Linked DNA regions of Homo sapiens: all the other regions are linked to region 1. The links are contacts of gene promoters, found by promoter capture Hi-C in blood cells and fetal thymus (Javierre and others, 2016). All regions are on one chromosome and are shown on one strand. Each heading gives the region's core, a stretch centred on a gene start or on the middle of the fragment in contact. The rest is flanking DNA. Distances are from core to core; before and after follow the strand shown. Region 1 holds the start of CAVIN1 (caveolae associated protein 1). Region 2 overlaps STAT5B (signal transducer and activator of transcription 5B). Region 3 holds the start of STAT5B (signal transducer and activator of transcription 5B). Region 4 overlaps STAT5B (signal transducer and activator of transcription 5B). Region 5 holds the start of COASY (Coenzyme A synthase). Region 6 overlaps STAT5B (signal transducer and activator of transcription 5B).

Region 1 (3,198 bases), core at 157-2,656:
GCTTTTGGAAAAAAGAGGAATTCTACTCTGTAGAATTCCACTCAGGCTGGAGTGCAATGGCGCGAATCTCAGCTCATTGCAACCTCTGCCCCCCGGGTTCAAGTGATTCTCCTGCCTCAGCCTCCCGAATAGCTGGGATTACAGGCATGCGCCACCACGCCTGGCTAATTTTGTATTTTTAGTAGAGATGGGGTTTCTCCATGTTGGTCAGGCTGAGGTCGAACTCCCGACCTCAGGTGATCCACCCACCTCCGCCTCCCAAAATGAGCCACTGCGCCTGGCCTAATTTTTGTATTTGTAACAGAGACGGGGTTTCACCATCTTGGGCCAGGCTGGTCTTGAACTCCTGACCTCGTGATCCACCCGCCTGGGCCTCCCAAAGTGCTGGGATTACAGGCATGAGCCACCGCGCCTGGCCTAAGAGAGGTGGGCTTTTAAAAAGGGCTTTACACCAGGCGCGGTGGCTCCCAGCACTTTGAGAGGCTGAAACCAGCAGATCACTTGAGCTCAGGAGTTCGAGACCAGCCTGGTCAAAATAGTGTACACCCCGTCTCTTAAAAAAATAAAAATTGAAAAAAATAAAAATTGAAATTAGCTGGGCGTGGTGGCAAGCGCCTATAGTCTCATCTACTCAGGAGGCTGAAGTGGGAGGATTGCCTGAGCCCAAGAGGTCGAGGCTGCAGTGAACTGTGATCAGACCGCTGCACTCCAGCCTGGGTGACAGAGTGACACCCTGTCTCAGAAAGGGGGGTTGGGAGGTGGGCTTTATTTTCCGTTTGATTGCCCATCTTAATTCTACTCTGTTAGGGCAATTCTAAAAAGAACTTAGAGGAGCTTCGCAGCCCTTCACCACCACCGTGACCCCAAATACGTTCTCTCTTTCTCCCCCCGCCCCCCACAAACAACCCCCTAAGCTTACCCCTGAGTTAGTAACCTGGTTGGGGTTGGTGATGAGGAAATCCGAGAGGCCTCTTAGAAAATATTGTAAAGGGCAAGGGTCCTTTTGTGCTCAAAATCTAGGTAAAGGCAAATACAAGATTTTGCCTATAATTTCAGAATCTCCTGGTCCACCCGGCTCCCAGATCTTGAGGATTTTCGGATGAGCAATTCAAGTGAGAGGGAAACAGAGAGCAACACTCTTAGAACCTGATTCCGTTCCTCAGCTCGCATTCCTCCGCCCGTCCCGCTCCCGCCGCCAGCGGAGGCCCTAGTCTCCCGCTCCAACTATTCCAACCATCCCGGGAAGGGTGGGGCGCTCGGCTCTTGGGTCCCCCTCCGCCGCCCCGCCTCGTCGATCTCCCCTTCTGCCCCGGTCCCTCCCTTTCTGGGGTGGGGCCAGCCAATCAGCGATCAGACTCCGGAGTTTGGCCCGGGAGCTGGGGAGCTCACCGATCCCCCGCCCAGCAGTTCTGGCCGCTGTCCCGGTGCGCACGGACGTGGCTCGAGTTTCCTCTGCTCTCCGCTCTCGCCCGCTAGCTCTCCTCCCTTCCGCTCCTGCTTCTCTCCGGGTCTCCCGCTCCAGCTCCAGCCCCACCCGGCCGGTCCCGCACGGCTCCGGGTAGCCATGGAGGACCCCACGCTCTATATTGTCGAGCGGCCGCTTCCCGGGTACCCCGACGCCGAGGCCCCGGAGCCTTCCTCCGCTGGGGCTCAGGCAGCGGAGGAGCCGTCGGGGGCCGGCTCAGAAGAGCTGATCAAGTCGGACCAGGTGAACGGCGTGCTGGTGCTGAGCCTCCTGGACAAAATCATCGGGGCCGTAGACCAGATCCAGCTGACTCAAGCACAGCTGGAGGAGCGGCAGGCGGAGATGGAGGGCGCAGTGCAGAGCATCCAGGGCGAGCTGAGCAAGCTGGGCAAGGCGCACGCCACCACGAGCAATACGGTGAGCAAGCTGCTGGAGAAGGTGCGCAAGGTCAGCGTCAACGTGAAGACCGTGCGCGGCAGCCTGGAGCGCCAGGCGGGGCAGATCAAGAAGCTGGAGGTCAACGAGGCCGAGCTGCTGCGGCGCCGCAACTTTAAAGTCATGATCTACCAGGTGAGCCCACAGGGCGGAAGGCGCCCAGAGCTCCCGCGCCCGGCCCGCGTCCCCTGCCTGGGAGTTGGGGTGGGGAGACCTGCCCGTGGCGCTGCTCCCCTCCCAGCCTGGCCCGGGCGCCCGGCAGATCCACCCTCCTTCCGGTGAGCGCGGCTGGGGTGGGGTTGGGTGGGGTAGGATGGGGTGGAGGGAGCGGCGGACTCCTGGGGCGCGTAGAGGGGCGCGCTCTGCACCTCGCACCTCCCCACTCAGATCCTTCCCTCGGGTCCCAAACTTGTAGCAGAACCGAATTAGCGGGTGGACTCGAGGACGCTGCCCCTCGCAGACCGCTCCCTCCCTAATTGGCTCTGTCAAACTTCTTCCTACTTGGGGGAAGTTTCTAGGAAAGTCAGGGGTCCCTCGCGATCGTTGGGGTCCGCTGTAAGCGGACACTGGCTGCGGGGCCCGGGCCTGGGGCCTCTGCGCCTGCGGGCCTGATATAGCGGGTGATTCAGGGCTCAGGCACGCACCAGCGGGGGCTGTGCCAAGCGGGGAACGCGACCGCCAACCTCCTCCCCAGACCCTGCGCCCCCGCGCCCCCACATCGGCCTCGGCGGCCCACCCCTGTCCCCTCGCTGCTCTCTGCTCCTGGCCACCAGGCATTTTCAGGCCCTTGAGGACACCCTCACCCGCGGCGCGCTGGCACCCTGGGCCTCCTGGAAGCGGGCGGGGCTGGGCGGGGAAGAGTGGGCGTCAGGAGTGCAAGAGGGGCTGGTGGAGTGGGTGGACAGCCCCTGCGGGGTCCGGCGGTCTGGGCGCAGTCTGGGCGAGGTGAATCACCCCGCATGCCTGCGGGGGCGGGGGCCAGGCGCAGCAGCGCAGCCGGCGGGAGGAGGCTGGCGCCCCCACCCCCCGGCTCCGCCCGGGGCCACTTGTTGCTTTCTTTGCAGCTCTCCCCATTCTTCACACTTGGATAAAAATGTAGCTTTTGGATCATAACCCCCAATAAACCTGGGAGTCTCGGGTTTCTATGCTGCTCCTCTCCACGCCGCTTCCGCAGTGCCATCGGGGATGAGATTTTGGGCTGGGCGGCAAGTGTTCCAGCCTGGCTCCTCCCCGCCTCCCAAAGGCCTGCTGATGCTCCTAACCCCAGGGAGGCGGGATCGTGTGGGGCAGGGGGGTTA
Region 2 (3,417 bases), core at 566-3,065, 170 kb after region 1:
AAGAAACTTTTTTTTTTTTAGACGGAGTCTCGCTCCATTGCCAGGCTGGAGTGCAGTGGCACGATCTCGGCTCCCTGCAACCTCTGCCTCCTGGGTTCAAGTGGTTCTCCTGCCTCAGCCTCCCAAGTAGCTGGGACTACAGGCGCATGCCACCACACCCAGCTAATTTTTGTATTTTTTGTAGAGACAGGGTTTCACCATGTTGGCCAGGATGGTCTCAATCTCCTGACCTCGTGATCCGCCTGCCTAGGCCTCCCAAAGTGTTGGGATTACAGGCATGAGCCACCGCACCGACCTTCTTTTTTTTTCCATTTTTAAAAATTTTCTATTCTCATTACATCTTCCTTTCTCCCTACTTTTCCTTCCCTTCCCTTCCAGTTTGTCCTTCCCTCTCTCTCTTTCTTCCTTTTTTCTTTCTTTTTCATTCTCATTTTTCTGAGTAGTTGCTGAAGACACAGCCTGACCCTAGGGGTCCAAATATAGATGAAACAATCATAGCTCTCTAGCAGTTCACCTGGAGGGAGAGAGAAAAAGAGAGTAAGAGAACCAAAATGAAGGGGAAATATTCTTAATTTTTTTTTTTTTAAGGACAGAAACTAACTTGTTGAGGAAAAAGAGAAATATACTGGGAGTTCTGACTGATAGGAACAAAGAGAGGACAGCTTCGAAGGATGATTTGAAAAGTAATCTATGGAATTTAGCTTTAAAGCAGGATCTTGGGCTGTAGACTACTTTATTATTATTATTTTTTAAGAGACAGAGTGCAGTGGTGCAGTCATGGCTCACTGTAGCCTCAAACTCCTGGGCTCAAGCCATCCTCCCACCTCAGCCTTCTGAGTAGCTAGGATTACAGGTACATACCAGCACGCCTGGCTAATTTTTTAATTTTTATTTTGTAGAGATGAGGTCTTGCTGTGTTGCCCAGGCTGGTCTTGAACTCCTGGCCTCAAGTGATCCTCCTGCCTCAGCATCCCAAAGTGCTGGGATGTTGTGGACTCCTTTAGAGCCTCTTGAAATAGGGCTAGTAAAGTGATTTTCTACCACTGTATCTGTGCTCATTTACATTGGGCAGATCACTTCTGCTTGACTTCATAGTTTCAACCTATAACATGAGGGGTCAACAGGTAGATTCGGAACCATCAGAGTTTAGGCCGAAGCCCATAGAATATGAAAGTTATTTTTAAAATTTATTTTTACAATGTCTACAAATGCAGTTGTTAAAGTGCCAGAGACAGAAGTATTGACAATGAGAAATTATCCAAAACCAGGCCAGGCGCGGTGACTCACGCCTGTAATCCCAGCACTTTGGGAGGCAAAGGTGGCAAGATGACTTGAGGCCAGGAGTCACAGGCTGCAATGAGTTGTGTTCATGCCACTGCTCTCCAGTCTGGGCCACAGAACAAGACCCTGTCTCTAAAAATAATCATCATCATCCAAAACCAAGACTGGCTCCTATTGGAAAGGTGGAAATGGTTGTGATGGAATTCAGCAACACCAATACCTTGGTATTTCTGACTTTCAGGATGTTAGGAGACTCTTTCAGTCCTTCCTGTTTAAATATGAATGGATATGTATTGCCATTATTGCCCTGCCCCTACATCTCCCAAATTTAGATTGCTAGTATTTATGTAAGTTTACTAGTCACAAATAGATTCTTGCATTTCCCATCTCTTGTCATAGGGCCCTCTTTGAGTTCAATATGCTTTTATTGGCACTTACTTTGGTTTTCTTTACAGCAGCAGCTGCTAATTAGTGACAGCTTTTGAGCAAGCAGCTTGTCATTTTTGGCAGAGATAGGGGACATCCATAGCAAGTCAAGACTATATTTTCATTTGCTAAATTTACTTTGCTACATGGAAATACATCTTGGATAAAAAATAGTCTGTAGTCAAAGGTGGCTGTGTTTACTGAATTATCTTCCTGAGTTGGCATTCTGTCCTGTAGTTGAAGAACTCACAGAGATGAAAAAAAGAAAGAAAGAAAGAAAGAAAGAAAGAAAGGTTCAACGTCTATCAGACTGATGCCATAAGTCCTGAGTCATCCTTCTAACATTAATCTACATTCTGGGTATAGAACCTCATCATCTTGTTTTGGCACAATCATAAATCTTTCTGGATTGTAGTTAGTGGCATACATGGTAACTGAATGAGTGAATTGTTGACAAATGTGCTTTTCGTTTATACTCAGCTTCTTTCTTGAGATATAATTAAAAGAAAGGTTAGTTTGCTTAGAGAAGATCCTTTCTTTGGAATTTTAGCTCATCTTAGCATCATCATATTTCATGTAATTCTTCTCTTTGAAATTGCTGCAATAAAGTGTTAGCTCTATTTTACAAACTTGTCACGATGTTTATGAGGGTGGCACAACTTGCTATTATGTTTACCTTGATTAGCACCAATGATGAGTCAAAACCTCCGTCATGGTTTCTATAAAGTGTGATTCACTCCCATTATTCCTGTAATAAGGATTCAGATTAATGACCTCCACAGTGTTAAAAATATCCTGAAGGAAATAACTGACCTACCATCCATTTCCCCCAATTTAGGTCCTTTTTGTAACATGGAGGTCTATAAAAATTGTATTCAATACACAATTACTAAATACCAACCATGTATATCAAGTACTATATTGGGGAAATCAAAATGAATCAGAGAGACATGGTCCTTGCTCCAGGATGGCTTACAGTCTATTAGTTGGCCAGCAGATAACTTAGTTGCCTTGGTTCTTATGTCCAGAGTGTAGGGTAAATTCTAATTCTAGAGGAGGAAAACATCCCATCTTTTAAAAATAAGATTATCAAAATGATCAAAGACATTGGATACAAATATTGTACTGATTCTATTTCTACCTAAAGGTGTTAAAGATTGTTTGAGGCACTTTTCCTAGGCTTGTGGAACTGCCAGGCATCCTTGTCCCAAATTTCCCCTTGATATATCGCACAGCACTGTTAAATTCAGAAGTTGCCTTCTGTATCAGAGTGTCTATTTCTTGATGGCATAGCTTGGAGAACCCAGATGATCTTCTAGCATTCAACTCATACTTAATGTACATCAACAGTAACATAGTTATTTGTATATTTTCTTTTCTTTTTTTCTTTTTTTTTTTTTTTGAGACGGAGCCTTGCTCTGTCACCCAGGCTGGAATGCAGTGGCACGATCTCGGCTCACTGCAACCTCCACCTCCTGGGTTCGAGCCATTCTCCTGCCTCAGCCTCCCCAGTAGCTGGGATTACAGGCACGCATCACCACGCCCAGCTAATTTTTTGTATTTTTAGTAGAGACGGGGTTTCACCATGCTGGCCAGTCTGGTCTTGAGCTCCTGACCTTGTGATTCGCCTACCTTGGCCTCCCAAAGTGCTGAGATTACAGGTGTGAGCCACCGCACCCAATCTATTTGTATATTTTCATTTGAACATTT
Region 3 (3,007 bases), core at 1-2,500, 150 kb after region 1:
CAAGGGCGGTCGCGGAGGGGGCGCGAGGGACAGCGGGCTAGCGAGCGCGCGCCGGGCGGAACCAGGAAGCGGGGCGCGCTCCGGGTTGCCAGCGGCGCGCGTCCCTGGGCCTCCGCGCGTGAGCGGCGCGCGCGCCCCCGCGGGCCCCGGCGGGAGGAGAGTCGGCGGCCGGAGCCGTCACCCCGGGCGGGGACCCAGCGCAGGCAACTCCGCGCGGCGGCCCGGCCGAGGGAGGGAGCGAGCGGGCGGGCGGGCAAGCCAGACAGCTGGGCCGGAGCAGCCGCGGGCGCCCGAGGGGCCGAGCGAGGTAGGAGCTGCGGGGCGAGCCCTGGGCCCGGGGCCGGGGGAGCCAGGCCGGGGAGCCAGCCCGGGCGGGGCCCGCGCTCCAGCCGCTCAGCCGCCCGTCAGGGCCGCGCCGCCGCCATCACTCCCGGGCCGCGGTGGTTGCGCGCTGGGCGAGGGGCGCGCGCGGGGAGAGGGGGTCCGGGTTGGCTGCCGGGGAGGCTGAGGGCAATGCGGGGTGCGCGAGGGGGACTTGCGAACGCCGCGGCGCCGCGGGGGGCGTGCGCTTTAAAGGCTGCGTGCGCGTGTGCTGAGTGGGTGTGTGGGGACCCCGCGCCGACCCCATAGGAGCTCAGGGGGCTGCTGTCAGCCGCCTCACACCTTCACGTTGCAATTCCGAATATCCCCAGCCGTCTTCCTTGCTTTAACTTCTTTCTTTCAAAAGAGGTTCCCGGGACTCCGGGGATGGGATGAGCCTGCGGGGGTGCCTGGTGCGGTGGGGGGTATTAGCAAAGCTTCAAGAAACAGGGCCTTATAAGGAATCAAGACAACAAATACGAACGTTTCGATAAGACTCTGGGGGGCGGGATCCCACATCAGGACCCGCCAGGCCTGGGCTCGTGCGTGTGGCCGTGGGATGCAGTGTGCTTTTTCTTTCTAGTCAGGGATAAAGGGTTAAAAGTGCTCCTGGTGTCGGGGGGTAGATATGGAGAGTCGGAAGGGGAGTTGTATCACAAAAGCTGGTCTGAGGCTAAAGGAATCTGGCAAGATGGTCGGGGTGAACAAAGAGGAAAGAACTCACACGGAGCAAGAGGCGGTTGCAAACACTTGTAGCCAGCAGTGATGGAAAAGCCAAAGAAGAAAACCAAGTGTCAGCTTTTAGAAAGACGGGATTAATGAAAAGCACAAGAATTTTAAAGACTAAAAGAGATACCGATTCTCTCTTTGCCAAAGAGCCAGAGTCAGTTCTTTTCTTCTTGGTCCCTGTGATCCCGCCATACCTCGTATCAAATAAATAGTGCCAAAAGTGGGTCAAAGAATGTTAGAGCTGGAAAGGAACCCAGCGATGATGCCATTCTTTTATTGTACAAATGAGGAAACTGAGGCCCAGATAGGTGGAGTAAGTGGCCTGCTCAGGTGACACGGCTGTTTGTTGAGTATCCAGGGATTGAAACTTCAAGGACTCTGAGATTCGTGCTCTTCCCAAAGCATCGTGCAGTATACAGATCTTTGCCTAGATACAATTCCATACATTTTCTCTGCAGTGTCCTCAGGGAATGCCCTTTGAAAGGGCCAGCGTGACACTGAATATCATACTTGGGCTTATGTCATTTTTTTCAGTCTTCAAGTGGTGTTTATGGTCTGCTTGGATCTTAGGTTTCCAAAGCTGTTGGATAGCCGCCTGGGCCATAATAAGCTTTCAGCTGTTGGGTCTACATTATTTCAAATAATTTTGTTATCTTTCAATTAAGGTAATAGAACTGTGCCTCTCTCCCCAACATTCTATTGTTGTCCATTTGCTTATGTTATATTGCGTTATGTTCATTGCCTGTGAGTTCCTAGGTGAGGATGTATTTTATTGAGTGTGCCTTTCATGTTTTAAAATTTCATTTTGTAACACTGTAAATATTGGAGTGGTTCTGATCACTTCAAATGGGGAGAATCTTATTGATTGATTTTATTTTAAGGCTTTGGGTTGTTTTGTTTATTCATTTGGGTACCAGTTTCCATCTCATGGAAGATCACAGTTGTTAGAATGGACATGGCTAAATAAGAGAAGGGGCTGCTGATTTTAAGAAAAACTTCCTATGTGACAATTTGTGGTATCTGTTACGTTTAATTCAAACAAGTCCACACCTTGGGTCAGGTAAGCGCGTTATCTAGGAGATGACTTGTTTGCTACTGTAGCCTCTGGAAGATGAAATTTCAAGCTCCAGATTGAGACACAGGGAAGGAATGGAGAGGTTTTTTTTTTTTTTTTTTTTTTTTTTGTAAAGCAAACCATCAGAAAAAAAAAGTTGATTTCTATCACCAGTAGTTTGGTTATTGCATAACTTGAAGCTAAACTCTGCACAAAATAATCTTTGCTATATACCCAACTAGGTAAACTATCCCACCTTCTCATCAGTTCTCACCTTTTCGGTGCTTGTATTTTTTGCCCACGGGATATTAATATGGATTGTGTTCAGAAATTTAAGGTGTGTACTTCATAGTATGTATGATTGTAGGAGAAAAATGTGCTATCATCGTTTGGAGTGTTACAACATAAATATTTTGGTCAACACTTCCTATCCTGCTCTGACTTTTCATCTCATCTCCATTTTCTTCCTCTCTTGATTGTTTTTATGTCATTTACATATGTAAAAGCCACATCAAGACTAAAGTTGCCATTTATTACTTTTTGATACTTAAGTCGAGTTTTTTCAAATCATAGTATTGTTAGTATTCAAATTGTCTGTAATTTTTGTTAGGCTTATATATTATGAATCCATTTGTTGTGGTTTATTTGGCTTGTTGTTATGTAGGTAGGTGACACAGGTAGTCTTATTGTAAAAGGAAGACGTTATAGATAGGTAAATAACATGCTCAAGATTAGATGCAGGTTACAGGTGGAATCGAAGGAAGCCTAACTATTTTCGTGCCCTACAAAAATGTCTGTATCTCATAAAGTTATTCACAGATTTCTGGACATTCTATCTGTGACACATTTTTTCCCTTTCTGTTA
Region 4 (3,021 bases), core at 233-2,732, 200 kb after region 1:
CATGGTGGAAGCAAATGATTCCATCACGAGAATATCTTGAGTGAGGACACAGATGATGTGTGTTCACATGGCCCTGCTCCCCATGGCCTCCCTAATGCTTAATGCCGTCCTTGCATTGGGTCAGTGAGTGGAAGAGGAATCACTCCACCTCCTCATTAGTAGGAAAACCCAGGTGACACTGGACCAGGTTACGTTCTAGTTTCTCCAAAGGTAATTCAATGGACCTCGTTTGGAATACTCTGGTGGAGGTCAGATCTGAAATGGAAGCTTCTCCCATGCTTTGTGATCTGAGCCATGATCTGTCCGCTCACCTGTTTCTCACTTTTCCCACTCCACCCTGTGTCTCATGATGACGTTTGCTTTTCCTCCCGACTCAAAATTTACCTTTTGGGGTCTTACCCTGGTTGTAGGAGCTGGCTTTTCCTGGGGATTAAGGCCTCAGTCTTCCTCCCATTCGCACTGCCTTGCACTGCCCCCCATATGTTCCCAGGGTAGCTCTCCAGCTGGAAGCCTTGCTGATGCCATGTCCCAGAAACACCTCCAGATCAACCAGACGTTTGAGGAGCTGCGACTGGTCACGCAGGACACAGAGAATGAGTTAAAAAAGCTGCAGCAGACTCAGGAGTACTTCATCATCCAGTACCAGGAGAGCCTGAGGATCCAAGGTGAGGCGCGGTGGAGGCACATTGTGCAACTTGAGGATTGGGCCTGGGGACTGGAAAGCAGCTCTGGTGGGGTTGGGAGAAAGCACACTTTCCATTCGGAGGCAGCGACCTTTCTCTGAGTAGCAGGGACTTATTTGCATTGAAGACAGTGCTGAGAGGATGAGATTTAGGAAGGGGAGATGACAGGACCCCCCGCTTAAGTGCATATCTCACTCAGGTCCCCACATCCAGGGAGCTTCTGAGCTGCCAGGGAAGACATTTCTTCTTTTGAGAAGGAGCTCACAGTCTAAATAAATACTAGCAAACAATACTTTTGTATATAGTAGGCATATTATAAGTGGAGCTTTATTGAAATGATAAATAGGAAATTATATAATTACATGTTTAAAAATTTTTCTGGCTGGGCACGGTGGCTCACACCTGTAATCCCAGCACTTTGGGAGGCTGAGGCAGGCGGATCACCTGAGGTCAGGAGTTCGAGACCAGCCTGGCCAACATGGTGAAACCCCGTCTCTACTAAAAATACAAAATTAGCTGGGCATCCCAGTGGCGCATGCATGTAATCCCAGCTACTTGGGAGGCTGAGGCAAGAGAATCTCTTGAACCCGGGAGGCGGAGGTTGCAGGGAGCCGAGATCTCACCATTGCACTCCAGCCTGGACAAAAAGAGCAAAATTCTGTCTCAAAAAAAAAAAAAAAAAATTCTAAGCTGGGAGTGGTTTTGCACACCTGTAATCCTGGTGCTTTGGGAGGCCAGGGCAGGAGGATCACTTGAGGCCAGTAGTTTCAGACTAGCTTAGGCAACATAGTAAGACCCTATCTCTAAGGGGGAAAAGAAACCTTTCTAAGCAGGTACGTGTAAGTACTAAGGACCTGTATATGATTTCTAATGTTCTATGCAGTTATTCACAGAGGTCTTCCTGAAACAGAGTACACTTAACGCCCCTTAGGTAGCCCTTATGGACAGAGCTTCCCTAGCCTGGTATAAATCCTGCTTAGTAGTTGGGGCACAGAGAGCTTCAGTCTGTGGTGAGGCTGTGGAGCCCCACCAGCGCCCCCTTTTGACCCTGTAGCAGTTTGGCAGTTTGAGCTTTAATAGTTTCCTCTCTGCTTCCATGCCCAGCTCAGTCTCAGAGAAGCCTTGGCTCAACCACCCAGCCCCTCCAAACACACACACACACAGCACACACAGACAACACAGCACACACACACACCACACACATCACACACACAGCACACACACACACAGCACACACACCCCCCACAGCACACAGAGACACACAGTGCACACACACAGCACACACACACCACACACAGCACACACACAGACACACAGCACACACACACCACACCACACACACCACACCACACACAGCACACACACACCACACCACACACAGCACACACACACCACACATAGCACACACACACACCACACATACACACCACACACACATAGACACACAGCACACACACACACACACAGCACATGCTCCTCTAATTCCATGTATGTAGGTTCCATTTTATGTCTATAGTGATACTACTTATTTACTCTTTATCTTCTCCACTGGAATATAAATCTTTGAGAAGGGACTATATCTTTTATCTCTGTACCCTGAGGCCAGCACAATGCCTGAAACATAACAGTTATTGAGTAAAGGTTGACAGGATGATTCTAGCCTGTCTTCCTTTTTTATCTGAATCCATCCTAGACTGGCCCTAGAAGAAGGGCAGCTCCTTCAGAGAATGGAAACGGAAGATTTGGGATGGCTATTCCTACCCAAGTCCTTAGACTGTCAACAGTATTTCTGATCCCGTGCCTGGCTTTTCTGTTTCCTGTGCATGGTGGCGGATTAGGTTTGGATTCAGGTTGGGTTTGGATCTATCACGCAGTGTCTTCTCAGTCCCATTTGTCAAGTTCACTCAGCAGAAACACAGACTATTGATCTGCTTTTGCCAGGGAAGGCTCAGCTGCCTCCAGTGGAGTAGGGAAATTGCTTCCCGTCTCCCTGGCCTCCTTCCCAAAAGCTTCTGCAAATTTCCAGGAGAGCCCTAAGTGGGTCCCTTGCATAGGAAGGCTGGGCCCAGGTGTTGGGATCACCACCACCCTCCCTGTGGCTGGGCAGGATTCCTGAGGTAGCCGTGCAGATACCTTGGATCTGTCCGTCCCTGGATGATCCTCTTCCTGCTCGATACCTGCAGTGAGATTGGAGCCATATTTCTGAGTTCTAGCTCTGGGCTGTTCCTGGCTACATAGAGTTGCTTTTGTCTGTCCCAGCTTGTGCATCCCATGGGTCAGGGCTGGGGTCAGAGTGACGTGGCCCTCAGGGGCCAGCCAGGAGCTCGACCAAGACATG
Region 5 (3,028 bases), core at 256-2,755, 140 kb before region 1:
CTCCTCCTGTCTGTGGCACTGCTACCTGCAGCTCACTCACCCATTCATTCCCAGTGTCTCATTAGGGTGTATCACCTGGAAAACTTGCTAAAATGCAGATCCCTTTGCTTCACATTTGGGGTATTCTGATTGAGTGGTGACTGGACCACATGCTGAGAAAGCTGTTCATTTGACAAAATGGCCTTAGCACCAATTGAGTGTCAACCACTGTGACATTTGGGAAGGGTGGGAAGTAATGAATGGCCCTACCCTTCCTTGATCTCGGCATAAGGGTCGGGGGTGGGGAGATTTGGGGATCCTCCACCCTAGTCCAGGGTCCCTCTTACTCACTCTTCAACAGATCTTTGTCTGCTACTCCCACCACAAGCTGCTCCTGGGCCAGGATGCACGCGACACTGAGCAACACCTTGTGGGCGTTGTGCAGGCGGTCAAACGTGCCACCGACAGCGCCACGGTAGTAGCCACGCACCGGCTGCTTTGGAGACCCGGCCACGGGGGAAGCTGGCCTGATCGTGGAGGGTAAGGGGACATCCAGGGGCTCCACGGGCACTTCTCCTATCCCATAATCGGAGTATAGCAGCACCGAGGCCAGTCGCGGACAACAGCTGTAACAGCTGGTGGCGTAACGCACTAGCTGCTGTTTGACCGGGTTGTACTGGCTTCCATCCAGGGTCTGGAAATCTGTCAACACGACTTCTGGCGGGTGGGCGAGATTCTGGACTGAGGTGGGCAGGGGAGGGAGAAAGGTGCTCTTGGTTCGGATATTGGTCAGTAGGATTCTGACGTCCAAGTGCCTGTGGACGTCGGCGCCAGCATAGAGGTGCGTGATGAAATCAAGAACCTCAAACGTGGCCTGCACGGGGCTGGACTGGGGCTGAGCCGGGCCCTCCAGGCTCATGCCCGGCTGCAGGTGAACATAGAGTGTGTGATTCACCAGCCGGGCCGCCGAGGTCAGGATGGAGGCCAGGCGAGGGGCTAGGGAGGCCAGCGGCGTCGTCAGCACCAGGAGACCCGACCGGAATACGGCCATGCTGCCCAGGCCTGCGGACAGTCAGGGAGACGAGGCGACGGTGACTGAAGGGCCTGCGGCCGAGGCAGAGGCCTGTATGGGACCTTGGACCCCAGAGAAGGAGGCCTGGAGCAGGGACGGGGTTTCAGTGCTGACCGACAGGAGCCGGGGGAGGGGACGGGGCCTGGTAGACGGCGCCTCGGGGCTGTGCTCTAAGCCTTGGTGTCCTCATTTCTCAGACGGGGCGGTGACTTCGCTGAACTGAGTCGAAATCCTGGGAGGGGGAAACTGGACAGGAACCCTTGTCACAGGGCTGGGGATCCAAAAATCCTGGGCCCTCTTGCTAAGCTGCACCAGGGTCTTCAAGGAATCGAAGAGGGAGGCTAAAGGGGGACGCTAAAGCTCACGTCGGCCCCCTACTCACTGAAACCTCAAGGCTTGGGTTCCACTTGCACCACCGCGGAGGCTTCCCTGGCTGCAACCCGGAAGCACTAACGGAGAAACCGCAACTCGGAACTACGGAAACGGAGGAAGGTCAAACGTCTCGACTTCGCTTCAGCGCGGGATTCTCGCGAGATTTCCAGTGGCATGGGCTGTGTCCTGCTGATGGGGTGGGGCTGATCCCGAAGGCTCTGGGAGTGGGTGAAGCCTTGATGCCGATCGGACCCCCGCTGGGACCGGGCGGAGAAAGGCAAGGCAGGTTTCAAAGCCCATTTCACAGATTCCCTTCTGGCCTGATGAGGAGAGATTAGTTTCAGCCAGGCCACCCAAGAGGCATCGGCAAAGCCAGAACTAACACCCAGATTTCCTTCATTCCAGGGACAGAGGTGGGGAATCACAGGGCTGCGCTGTATTAGCCCTCCTAGTACCCTCTCAGTCCGAGGATTCTCACATGGGAGGCTACTGGACAGGTCTGTCCACGTACCCATTTCACAGATGGAAAAACTGAGGCCTTGTGTGTACCTGGCTGCTGTAGGAGGCTCTCGCACCACCCAGATCCTCTGATGCGCTTGTTTGCGGGGTCTCTGTGGACAGGAGAAAAAGGCAAAGGCTGATTGGGCGCGGTGGCTCACGCCTGTAATCCCAGCACTTTGGGATGCCGAGGTGGGCAGAGCATCTGAGGTCGGGAGTTCGAGACCAACCTGACCAATATGGAGAAACCTTGTCTCTACTAAAAATACAAAATTAGACGAGCGTGGTGGCGCATGGCTGTAATCCCAGCTACTCAGGAGGCTGAGGCAGGAGAATCGCCTGAACCCGTGGGCGGAGGTCGCGGTGAGCCAAGATTGTGCCATTGCACTCCAACCTGGGCAACAAGAGCGAAACTCCCGGCCGGGCGCGGTGGCTGACGCCTGTAATCCCAGCACTTTGGGAGGCCGAGGCGGGCGGATCACGAGGTCAGGAGATCGAGACCATCCTGGCTAACACGGTGAAACCCCGTCTCTACTAAAAATACAAAAAAAAATTAGCCGGGCATGGTGGCAGACGCCTGTAGTCCCAGCTACTCGGGAGGCTGAGGCAGGAGAATGGCGTGAACCCGGGAGGAAGAGCTTGCAGTGAGCCGAGATCGCACCACTACACTCCAGCCTGGGTGACAGAGTGAGACTCCGTCTCAAAAAAAAAAAAAAAAAAAAAAAAGCGAAACTCCCTCTGGAAAAAAAAAAAGAAAAAAGAAAAAGGCAAAGGCTGGATACCTAGTGTGGGAGATTTACTGCGAAGCTAATGGGCGCTTGAAAGGCTGAGTGTGGAGGGGAAGCCAGGTTGCTATTAGAATACATCTCAGGTAAGTTGTGCATGGAGATCAAAAGGGAGAGAAGCCAGTCTCCAAGATTCCAGTAATGTGCCGTGGTATCCGAAACTTAAAAAAAAAAACAAAACTCACTTTTATATGTAATTTTGTGTTTATCTTTTGTATTCTTGAAGACGGTCTCCAAAAGCAAATAAGCCCCCAGCCCCACAAAACCTGGGCTTATGATGGAGAAAAGGAGATGCTATTTTAGATAAGGTGATTCAGGAAAA
Region 6 (3,190 bases), core at 70-2,569, 220 kb after region 1:
ATAAATCATTTCTTTTCCTGGCAGTTCTACTTAGAACATTCTTCCCTGCATGACTGAACATTTGTCCTCTTATGACCTGCCCCTCCTGGTCCTGATTTTATCCCCTGGGTCAGGTAGAACAAATCCTGTCTCTCTGCTGCATCTTGGACTTTAAGCTTTTCAAGGTGTTTTTTTTTTTTTAATTAGTATGCAATTAGTGCTTGACTTAGATTTGTATTGAAGTACATAGTTTCCATGGTTTGAAGAATTTATTGAAACATCCAAGCCAATTTGGAAGATATCTTGAATTTCAGTTTTAGTGCTGACCTTCTCCTCTACCAGGTCTTCCTAACAGATTGAAATATTAAATGCTTGGCCAAGTGCGGTGGCTTATGCCTGTAATCCCAGCACCTTGGGGGGCCAAGGTGGGCAGATAACTTGAGGTCAGGAGTTAGAAAACAGCCTGGGTGACATGGTGAAACCCCATCTCTACTAAAAATACAAAAATTAGCCAAAGTGTGGTGGTGTACCTGTAATCCAGCTACTCAGGAGGCTGAGGCATCGGAATCATTTGAACCTGGGAGGCGGAGGCTGCAGTGAGCCGAGATTGCACCACCGTACTCCAGCCTGGATGAGAGAGTGAGACTGTTTCAAAAAACAAAACAAAAAAATATTAAGTGCTTGTGTCATATCCTTAGATAAGTTAGGTGGTTGTGTTCTGTCCTAAGAAAAGATGTGATTCATAAGGAAGATCACATTTTTGTTTCACTTGAGAACTTTGATTTACTACATTCTTCCCTTGGCAGCTAAAGCTGTTGATGGATACGTGAAGCCACAGATCAAGCAAGTGGTCCCTGAGTAAGTGTCCAGGTGGCTGTGGCTCTCCTTCTGCCTCTTTCCTCCTCCCCCAGACCCTGCCTCCCATCCTTATCCTGGCCCAGCTTTCCGCTCCCCCGGGGAAACTGTCTCAGCCCTGGGGAAGGACCTGGGCTTGGTGATGCTATGCCAGTACCTGAGGCCCCACTCCTGTAGCTGGAGCCCCAGGGCCGAGTGGGGCACTTTGTCCTTCTACACCCTGAGAAAGACAAAGATACCCCTTGGTCCCCTCCCCAAGTCAGCTGCCCTGGCCTCCCTGGCAGCTGAAGCTCTGTTCTCTTCCTTCTGCAGGTTTGTGAACGCATCTGCAGATGCCGGGGGCGGCAGCGCCACGTACATGGACCAGGCCCCCTCCCCAGCTGTGTGTCCCCAGGCTCACTATAACATGTACCCACAGAAGTAGGTGGCATTCTTGTGGGGGTCCACAGGGGAGGAACTGGGGGCTTGGCCCCAGGCTGGACCCCTGGAGGGCTGGGGTCAAAGGAATCCAGAGCTCCTCTAGGTCTGAGACCACACAGCCCTGGCCCGGGCTCTGGCCTTTGGGAGGGAGAGATTTGACCAGAAGTGATTGGTGGTTTAGAGTCGGGTTGGGCAAATGTCATCTGTTCCCCTCTCTCAATATGGAGATTTTTCTTGCTCTAAGGACTGAGTGGAGTTGTGATGTGTCTGGACAGCCGGTGTGAGAGGTAACAGGGGAGGGTATTTCAGTCTGAGTTGCTGTACAGCCAGCTGTTTGAATGGTTGTTCTTTTCCCATGAAGCCCCAGGCTGAGGGCATAGGCTGGCTCAGACTGCTCCCCTGGTGGCCTGTGGGGCTTGGGGTGGTCTCTGGCAGGCTTTCCCCTTCCCTTCATCCCTCTTCTTTCCCTCCCAAGCCCTGACTCAGTCCTTGACACCGATGGGGACTTCGATCTGGAGGACACAATGGACGTAGCGCGGCGTGTGGAGGAGCTCCTGGGCCGGCCAATGGACAGTCAGTGGATCCCGCACGCACAATCGTGACCCCGCGACCTCTCCATCTTCAGCTTCTTCATCTTCACCAGAGGAATCACTCTTGTGGATGTTTTAATTCCATGAATCGCTTCTCTTTTGAAACAATACTCATAATGTGAAGTGTTAATACTAGTTGTGACCTTAGTGTTTCTGTGCATGGTGGCACCAGCGAAGGGAGTGCGAGTATGTGTTTGTGTGTGTGTGTGTGTGTGTGTGTGTGTGCGTGTTTGCACGTTATGGTGTTTCTCCCTCTCACTGTCTGAGAGTTTAGTTGTAGCAGAGGGGCCACAGACAGAAGCTGTGGTGGTTTTTACTTTGTGCAAAAAGGCAGTGAGTTTCGTGAAGCCTGGAAGTTGGCCATGTGTCTTAAGAGTGGCTGGACTTTGACATGTGGCTGTTTGAATAAGAGAAGGACAAAGGGAGGAGAAAGCACATGTGCTCCAGTGAGTCTTCGTCACTCTGTCTGCCAAGCAATTGATATATAACCGTGATTGTCTCTGCTTTTCTTCTGAAATGTAGATAACTGCTTTTTGACAAAGAGAGCCTTCCCTCTCCCCCACCCCTGTGTTCTTGGGTAGGAATGGGAAAAGGGGCAACCTACAAAGATTGTTGGGGCAAGGGAAGTCACAAGCTTTCGGATGGGCGGTGGCTTTTCACAAAACATTTAGCTCATCTTATTCTCTCTTTGTCCTCTCTCCCCTCCTGCCCGCCCGCACCCTGGAATTGCCACTCAGTTCCTCTGGGTGTGCACATATGTTTGGAGAAATAGAGGAGAGAAAAGAGGGCCACGTAACTGAGAGCTTACAGTGCCAATGCCGTTTGTGTTCTGGCCAGAGTGGAGTGCGCAGCCCTGACTCCCAGGCGCTGAGATTGTTGCCTGGTTACCCAGGAAGCTGCTGTTCCGGCTGCCCAGCCTTTCTCTGAGCCAGCGGATGCACAGTCCGTGGCCTTCTTCAGGCTTATTGATGATGCTTTTTGCAAATGTTGAATCATGGTTCTGTTTCTAAGTTGGATCTTTTTTGTTTTCTCCTTGCCACCCTAATTTGACATCAAAATTCTCTCTTGTGCATTGGGCCCTGGGTCATTCAAACCCAGGTCACCTCATTCCCCTTCTCTGTTCACACCTAATGTCTTGAAGAGTAGGTAGCAGCAGTGTGGGCTGAACCTAGGCCAGCTTGCTTAGCGGGTCACCCTGCTGTGAAGTCCTGGCAGGTGTTGGTAATGTGTGGAAATGCAGTCAGCAAGTTTGCTGGGGAGTTTGATAAAAGTATAAAACAAAACAAAAAAAGCCTCGGTATAATTTTGTTCCACGACTTCTTCTGTAGCTTTACACCAGAAGGAAG

Evidence for each region. The method cuts DNA at HindIII sites, captures the fragments that hold promoters and counts their contacts. A CHiCAGO score of 5 or more calls a contact.
Region 2: a fragment that was not itself captured here is called in contact with the fragment with the promoter of CAVIN1 in region 1 in 5 of 17 cell types (neutrophils, megakaryocytes, endothelial precursors and 2 more); the score reaches 5.3 in neutrophils.
Region 3: a fragment that was not itself captured here is called in contact with the fragment with the promoter of CAVIN1 in region 1 in 5 of 17 cell types (endothelial precursors, megakaryocytes, fetal thymus and 2 more); the score reaches 9.2 in endothelial precursors.
Region 4: a fragment that was not itself captured here is called in contact with the fragment with the promoter of CAVIN1 in region 1 in 1 of 17 cell types (megakaryocytes); the score reaches 5.0 in megakaryocytes.
Region 5: the fragment with the promoter of COASY here is called in contact with the fragment with the promoter of CAVIN1 in region 1 in 6 of 17 cell types (neutrophils, activated CD4 T cells, total CD8 T cells and 3 more); the score reaches 6.9 in neutrophils.
Region 6: a fragment that was not itself captured here is called in contact with the fragment with the promoter of CAVIN1 in region 1 in 6 of 17 cell types (activated CD4 T cells, total CD8 T cells, naive CD4 T cells and 3 more); the score reaches 8.6 in activated CD4 T cells.

What each region holds. Positions count from the first base shown.
Region 1 is chr17:42,421,464-42,424,661 of GRCh38, reverse strand. It overlaps CAVIN1 (caveolae associated protein 1), which reads left to right and starts at 1,406. Exons shown (of 2, transcript NM_012232.6): 1 at 1,406-2,035. The coding sequence starts at 1,565. It overlaps LOC102725238 (a long non-coding RNA gene), which reads right to left and starts at 1,474. Exons shown (of 4, transcript XR_007065758.1): 1 at 1,390-1,474. The HindIII fragment of the contact is 2,664 bases long and covers 917-3,198 here.
Region 2 is chr17:42,251,691-42,255,107 of GRCh38, reverse strand. All of the region lies in intron 1 of STAT5B (signal transducer and activator of transcription 5B), which reads left to right. Among named protein-coding and RNA genes, the nearest start is that of STAT5B, 23 kb to the left of the region's middle. The HindIII fragment of the contact is 4,157 bases long and covers 1-3,417 here.
Region 3 is chr17:42,273,548-42,276,554 of GRCh38, reverse strand. It overlaps STAT5B (signal transducer and activator of transcription 5B), which reads left to right and starts at 164. Exons shown (of 19, transcript NM_012448.4): 1 at 164-307. RefSeq lists a silencer at 1-531. The HindIII fragment of the contact is 902 bases long and covers 800-1,701 here.
Region 4 is chr17:42,221,026-42,224,046 of GRCh38, reverse strand. STAT5B (signal transducer and activator of transcription 5B) reads left to right here. Exons shown (of 19, transcript NM_012448.4): 5 at 491-665. Among named protein-coding and RNA genes, the nearest start is that of GHDC, 28 kb to the right of the region's middle. The HindIII fragment of the contact is 2,425 bases long and covers 270-2,694 here.
Region 5 is chr17:42,560,625-42,563,652 of GRCh38, reverse strand. It overlaps COASY (Coenzyme A synthase), which reads right to left and starts at 1,505. Exons shown (of 9, transcript NM_025233.7): 1 at 331-1,505. The coding sequence starts at 1,030. RefSeq lists enhancers at 980-1,169, 1,180-1,429. The HindIII fragment of the contact is 14,901 bases long and covers 1-3,028 here.
Region 6 is chr17:42,200,404-42,203,593 of GRCh38, reverse strand. STAT5B (signal transducer and activator of transcription 5B) reads left to right here. Exons shown (of 19, transcript NM_012448.4): 17 at 786-837; 18 at 1,147-1,254; 19 at 1,730-3,190. The coding sequence ends at 1,856. Among named protein-coding and RNA genes, the nearest start is that of GHDC, 7.5 kb to the right of the region's middle. The HindIII fragment of the contact is 2,323 bases long and covers 158-2,480 here.